Regions from separate parts of the Homo sapiens genome. Here region 2 is linked to region 1. Evidence: promoter capture Hi-C in human tissues and cell types (Jung and others, 2019). All regions are on one chromosome and are shown on one strand. The core of a region is centred on a gene start or on the middle of the fragment in contact, and the rest is flanking DNA. Distances in the headings are between cores, read along the strand shown.

Region 1 (3,613 bases), core at 1,069-3,568:
CTACATTGCCTCTTTTTGTTATTATCTGTTATGGGTGGAACTGCGTTCTTCTCCGCCCCTGCCAGTTTCACATATTGAAGTCCTAACTCCCAGTACTCTAGAATGTGACCTTATTGGGAAATAGGGTTGTTGCAAATTTAATTAGTAAAGTTAAAATGAGGCCATTAAGGTGAGCTCTAAATCATATATGACTGGTATCTTTATAAAGGATAAATTTTGACACAGACATGAACATAGGGAGAATGCCATATGAAGATTATAGGAGACAGGGGTCATGTGTCTACAAGCCAACAAGAAACCACTGGAAGTAGGTAAGCATCATGGAAAATTCTCTCTCAAAGCCCTCATAAGGAACCAACCCTGCAGACATCTTGATCTTGGTCTTCTAGCCTCCAGAATTATGAAATAATACATTTCTATAGTTTAATCCACCCAGTTTATGTGCATCCTTATGACAGCCTTAGCAAACTAATACATTCTACATATATGAATAGCGTTTTAAATGGTGATAATCAAATTGTGGTTTTGTAATCTATAATTAATGTTGTATTTTATCTATGAACATCCCACTGAAAGTATGCTTTTAATTTCCTACTTTATAAACAACTCGGTAATAAATATGCAACTATGTACATGCGGCATTTCTCTTTTATGGATTATCTCCTTTGAATACATTGTAAGACATGGGAATCTAGGTCCAGAACAAGAAAAAATTTCGTTACTGAACACCTTGGGAATGTGTTGCTAAATTGCTTTCCAACAAAAGCGTGATTACAATTTACCTTCCATCTGCTATCTGTTAAGTGATTTCTATACGTTTTCACCAGCATTTGACATTATCATTTGAAGTGCTGTCACACACATTTTGAAGATACATTCAAATTTATTCTTGAGGAGGGGAGGGGTAACGAAAAATACTATAAATTTGGTTGTAACTTTTTTTCTGTCTCTTGCATTCAGGCGGTCACCAGAGGAAATTAGTCAGTGCCTTTAGGCTACACTTAGCTTAACACATTTCATTAAAGAGCCCAGTAGTAGAGAATTCAAGATGGGTGTTATTATTTTAATTTCATGAAATCACTCCTTAATTCTAACTTTCAAAAGTCAAATTTTATTTCTTTAATTGCATGTGGATTGTTATAATGAGGAGAATCAGAACAGCTTATAGGACAATATTTCTTTTCTATTTTTCTTAACACACCATATTTATTTGGAAATTTACCTCCTACATTGTCCAGGGAATTAGGATGGGCGTTGGCCGTTTTTCAGCACTTCCTGGTTGAGGCCAAGGGCTCCACTCACGTGCCTGTCCATCCCTCTACAAGGCTTCCCTGGCAGCTTGTTTTTCCGTTTAAAATTTAACAATGACCAAATCCCAAAAAAGCTACCAGGCTAAGAAATGAAACATCTTTTTTTCTTTTAAGTCCGGAGAAGTGCTGCTGAGCACAGCTGGCTCACTGCTGTTTCTGCGGCCCCCATCTCTGATCCTTTCTAGTCTCCTACCCACCCCCACCCCACCATAGGCAGGCAGAGCCGGATTTCTGCCCTTCAAACCCCGAGTGTGAGGAAGCCTCACCTGAAGTCCTCGCATCACCCTCCACCCTCACGCCCTTGGGTTTTAAAAAGCCACTGCGTTCGTGGGTCACTGCAGGGCGCCTCCGCAATGTCTTTAGCAGATACAAGAGCATCCCTCCCACGGGATGTGCAGTGTAGTCAAGCTGAGTAAACTGGGATTTTTGGCTGCCTTTTCTGCTAGGGTGGGTGGGGAAAGGTATGTCCCCCAAGCGTTCAGTTCAGACTAGAACCTTTGAATCTCTCTCCTGTCTCGGTCTCTCCCTCCACCCCCCTACCCCGCCACCTTTCACGGTGTGGGAGTTCTCCTTTCCCACACCAGAGAGGGGCGCCTTTCTAGCTTCCTTGTCCCCTCGCCCACTGATTAAAAAATGGAGAAAAAAACCAACCCCAAAACCCAAAACAAAACAAAACAAAAGCCCCAAACAAACAAACAAACCAAACCCACCGAAACCAAAACCAACTCCCCTCCCCCAAACCACACAAATGCGGGAGTCATAGCCAGTGGATCCGCTGGTGCTGAACGAATGGAAGCGCGGGGCGGGCCTGCGCGCGCGGCCGCCCTGCCCACGATGCTGTCGCCCCCGCGACCTGTAGGGCCTTCGCTGGCCCCTCACCCTCCTCCCGCCCCGGGCTGAGGCTGCCGCCGGTTTCGCGCCCAGTGCCGAGGCAGCGGCGGAGCCGGGGAAGGTCGGAGGGAGGGTGGTTTCCTCCCGCCCCACACCCAGTCTCCGAGCCGGATATATAGAGTGTCACGTTTGGGAGCCGAAAGACTGGAGCCGTTTCCTTGTGGCTGGAGCGCTTCCCGTAGCCTCGGGGAAGGAGCAGGATTTAGAGGACCACTAGTTGGACCCCATCCTCGTGCTGGAGGAACAGGTATTCCAGGGTCCCCAGCCCTGGCGCTCGCAGAGCCCACGCGCTCCAAAAGCAGAGACCGGACTGGGGGTGGCCCAGGAGGGAGGGCTCGGCTGGGTTCGCAGGGCGGGGCGGTTCCCGGCGGGACCTCGAGGAGGGTGGGTGTGAGGCCGGGTGGGAGGAGAGAAGCATTTGCGGAGGCTCTGCCCCCTGAAGCTGCCCCCGGCTGCACCCCAATCGTCACCGGCCGTTTACGCGCGGTTGGCGTCGGCGGAGCCCGCCAAGGTGGGGCGCGCGGGGGTTGCAAAGGGCAGAAAGCCGGGAAGGACCCAGCAAGGTTAATGTGGGGGGCCGCGCCTTGGGGACTGGGGACCCGGGAAGAGAGGCGCGGGGCCGAGTCCCACCCAGGCCTCCTGGGCCCTTGGGGCTATTCCTGGAGAGAGCGCGAAAATGCCGGGGCCACGTGTGAAACGGCAGCGGTCCTAGGTCCCCTCCCGGTGCCTGGGACCGCCAGGGCGCCCAGTCCTGGTCCCCGGAGCAGGTCCTCGCCAGCCCCCAGCCCCACCCCAGGCTGCGCACGTCCCTACCCTCCCACCTGGGCCTCGCCGGGGTCGTGGCTGACGCGCGCTGGGGCGACTGGTGAGGCCAGGGCGGGCTTTGCCCCTGTAGGAAGTTTTAGACATCTTCCTGCGGCCTGGGCATCCTGGGGGTGTGCAGGGGAGCAGGTGCCAGCAGACTCCCAACTGGAGTAGATGGCTTGCAGGAAGGCTGCTCAACACTCCTAGCAAGTAGAATTACCCGCGGGGCAGTCTCAGTCTATTAAAACAATTCATGCCCAATCGTATCCTACAAACCAGAGGAAGGCGTCTCACCTGCCAGCGGTGGCACCATTTCTTCCACGGTTGAGTTATGTGGTGTGAGCAACCAAGGTTATCGCTGGATCTGCAAGAGTTTGGCCACTCGTTGAATCACGTAAAGTGCCCCCATTATGTGATGAGCAAGGACAGAGTAGGGTCAGAAAAGTGACCAGGGAATTCAGGTAGATCGTGCTTTTCTGTTTGCTAGGTTGAGAGAAATTTGACACTGGGCAAATGGAAATTTGAGAATTACCCCGTGGTTTCAATTACCCATCTCTGTATATTCCCATTTATAAGAGCTGGAGATTTGACTGACAGGTGTAGTTAGT
Region 2 (3,504 bases), core at 638-3,137, 1.0 Mb before region 1:
AAGAAAATTATAAAATTTTTAACTTCTAAATATCCTATACATGAATTAGCATCATTAATCACAAAACAAAGATATATTAAATTTCAGTGCTATAATAAAGGTGCTCCTTGTTTATAATTTTCCATTATTCAGAAAAATTTTATGTTACTAGCTTACAAATACCTTGGTAGGAATTTACTTTTGAGCTGGGTATGGTGGCACACACCTGTAGTCCCAGCTACATGGGAGGCTGAGGTAAGAGGATTGCTTGAGCCCAGGAGTTCAAGGTTGCAGTGAGCTATGATAGTATCTCTGCACTCCAGCTGGGGCAACAGAGAAAACCCTATCTAAGAAAAAAAGAAGTTATCTTTGTATCTACCGTAACACATAGACACACAACCTTGTATATAGTGGGTGCTCCATAAGTAACTGTTCTTTGAAAAAATGTAAACCCAGTATCATTTCATGTAAAATGATTTCATGCAAACTTTCCTGTTTGCTTCCCAGAAACAAACAAACAAACAAACAAAAAACAGAAAACATTGTATTGAATAGGTCTGCCTCTGTCTGACCTTATTTCAACCCTGAGTACTTTGTCAGCCTTCAACACAGATTTTTCTCCAACTTCAGTGTTTGTTTGCTAATTAATTCTTTCACATTTGGTGTTTCATTTATTTATGCTAATATACATATTCTCTATTCCTCCTAAGAGACCATTATGCAGATAGGATGATTATCTGATTTATATCAATGATCTAAGGACCAATATCTTTTATTTTCCTCCACTTTAATAGCTCTGGAAAAAAATTTAAAAAGTACCCTCCAGATGTAATAAAGGCAAAATTACATATCTATACCTTTTTCCCCTTAATATCTGATTTTTTTCAGAAATGAGCAAGTGGTTTCAAATGTAGAATAACAAAATTATCTTTTTAAAATATAACAGTCTTCATTCTAAAGGACTCTAGAATTCTAGACTCTAAAATGCACACACATCCAGAATTAAAATTCTATGGTTATGAAAAAGAACTCCAGCATATCCCCACCAACTGCATTTTACAGTACTCTTTGTACCAAAGAAACACGAATTATTGAGAATAACAGTTGGAATGGACCCCGCCTATTCTTGCTTTGACAGTAAGAACAATAACAGTAGCACCTTCATTTTTAAGGAAGTATGAAAGAGTTTTTCCATCAATGTCCATTTTGTTTTTCGTCTATAGAAAAACTGTTTCCATGGAGATTACTGCTTACCTTCTCTCTACTAGTATTTGGCTGAGGTGATTGGCAAGTGCAACGTGTGCTAACAAAAGACATGGAGGTTCAAAGACCTGCCATGTGCATAAAACCCCCTGAAACCTAAGAAGGTAAGGATGGTTGAGTCAGTCAACCATCCTTATCTTCTTAATTAGCTACCCCCTAAAAACAGAACTTTAATAGTTACACACCCGTTTGCCAGCAAGCTGATCTGGTAAAAGCCAATGAGACAGAAAAGGCATTCAGAAGGGGATACACCCATGTCTACGTCCCTCCTCACTCTCTGACTCACTGCTACCTTGGGTATGCCATTAACAATTCTGGGCATCAGGTTGTTCAAATGAAACTTCTAACCAAGGTATTTGCTGACCACCTACCTCACAGAAGTATTGCGAGTCTCAGCTATTAAGCTATTATAAAGCAATCTAAGCACATGAAGTGCTACATAAGCACTAATGGTACTGAGTCAGTGAGGAAAGGGAGCACGCTGTACATTGAATCACCTGCATTGTTTCCTTCTTTCAGTCCTTTGTGGTAATTTCCTAAACAACAAAAAATGTGCCCTTCTAGGATGACTGGGTCTAAGCTTGCTCCTGGAAGGTAACTAAGATGATTGAATTGAAAAGTCACAAAGCTATGGGCCATATTATATTTTCAATTTGGGAAAATAGGTATTTTTGAATTAATAAACTTCATTATTATTATTATTTTTATTATTGAGACAGGGTCTCACTCTGTTGCTCAGGTTGGAATGCAATGGTGTGATTGCCACTGGGACTCCAGGTGTGTACCTGCACACCCTTGCTTATTTTTAAACTGTTTGTAGAGACAGGTCACACTGTATTGCATTGGCTTATCTCAAACTCTTGGGCTCAATCGATCCTCCTGCCTCAGCCTCACAAAGTGCTGGAATTACAGGTGTGAGCCACCATACTCAGCCAATAGACTTTTCAAAGAGTAGCTTTAGGTTTACAGAAAAATCCATCAGGAAGTACAAAAAGTTCTTGTACACACACCCTCCACCCCCACTACTCCCCAAACACAGTTTCCCCTATCATCTTGTATTAGTGTGGTACATTTGTTACAATTGATGGTGTTTAGGACGGGCAACCCCAAAATACAGCATGTTGGCATTTGAGAAAACAGCAGAAGCAGGAAGGTCACTTTTACCCTCCCCTCATCTCTCCCGCCGGAAGCAGGTCAGAAAATCTAGGAAAGTCACTCTCTGACTTTCTCCCGCTCTTCTACCTTCTACCCTGAAGCAGGTCATAAGACCTTCAGGCGAAGGGTGCTCTCTCTAATACCAGAAGAAAAGAACATCCTTATCTCTGATGACCCAGGGATGCAGAGAAAAATATGAACAAACAGACCTTGCTAAGTTCCCCCCAGTTTATTACCATTAGAGCATACCTCCTTTGTCCAATCATACTTTTCCACAACCATCCACCTTGTCTCAAACCTAAGCATAAAAATGCACATTTGCCTGTTCTTTTGGGTCTTCATTTCTGAAGTCTCTTTTATGTAAAACTTAAATAAATATGTATGCTTTTTTCTTGTTAATCTGTCTTTTGTTATAGGTGTCTCAGCCATGAAAAGACTAGAATAAAAATGCTTATTATCCTAATTATCCAGAAAAGAAACAACAAACAGATAGAAATTTATGATGAAAGAATATTCTTCTGGGGAGCAAAAATTATTTCCAGCAAATAAGACAGGAAAAGCCCATAAAACTCTTGTCTGCAAGTGGTGGATGAAAGCCTGAGGTCAAACTGGGGGTGGAAATTTGAAAGACTGGGTCAGAGAAAAAGAAATTTTAAATGAACACTAGAGGAGGGGAATTTTGACAGTAATTAGTATCTTTCAAAAACAAGAGCTTGCAAATGTTTGAACTGTAATTCCATGAAGTCAAAAGGAATCTTTGAGAAAAGAAATGTTCAACCAGCATACTGACTTTCTCATTTGATTAACATTTTTGTTGTACAGAATCACCTAAATCTGCCCAGGGAAAGCCCTTTACATATTTCCCTCCATTAATTATCAGCTTGTGATTTATTGTAACTACCAGTGAAATATGCAGCATTGTGAATGAATAAAAAAGCATTTTTTGCGAGAGTTCTCATTTCTTAATGGGCCCCAGCAAGGAGCTTGCTTTTTTTAAAATAAAAAACAAACTTGAAGGCCCTAATAATGAGATCACATAATAGAAAATAAATATATAAAATACCAGGCTTCACTGAATCTTAAGAAGTCATCAAGTCAGGTCGGGCA

What was found. The method cuts DNA at HindIII sites, captures the fragments that hold promoters and counts their contacts. A contact is called where the count stands out against the background at its distance.
Region 2: a fragment that was not itself captured here is called in contact with the fragment with the promoter of FAR2 in region 1 in 1 of the 25 tissues and cell types used here (dorsolateral prefrontal cortex).

The regions. Positions count from the first base shown.
Region 1 is chr12:29,146,960-29,150,572 of GRCh38, forward strand. FAR2 (fatty acyl-CoA reductase 2) reads left to right here and starts at 2,319. Exons shown (of 12, transcript NM_001271783.2): 1 at 2,319-2,448. RefSeq lists silencers at 2,167-2,226, 2,537-2,686. The HindIII fragment of the contact is 14,796 bases long and covers 1-3,613 here.
Region 2 is chr12:28,126,013-28,129,516 of GRCh38, forward strand. LOC105369710 (a long non-coding RNA gene) reads right to left here. Exons shown (of 3, transcript XR_931461.3): 1 at 3,461-3,504. The region is part of intron 1 of LOC107984462 (a long non-coding RNA gene); the gene reads left to right. Among named protein-coding and RNA genes, the nearest start is that of CCDC91, 63 kb to the right of the region's middle. The HindIII fragment of the contact is 4,493 bases long and covers 1-3,504 here.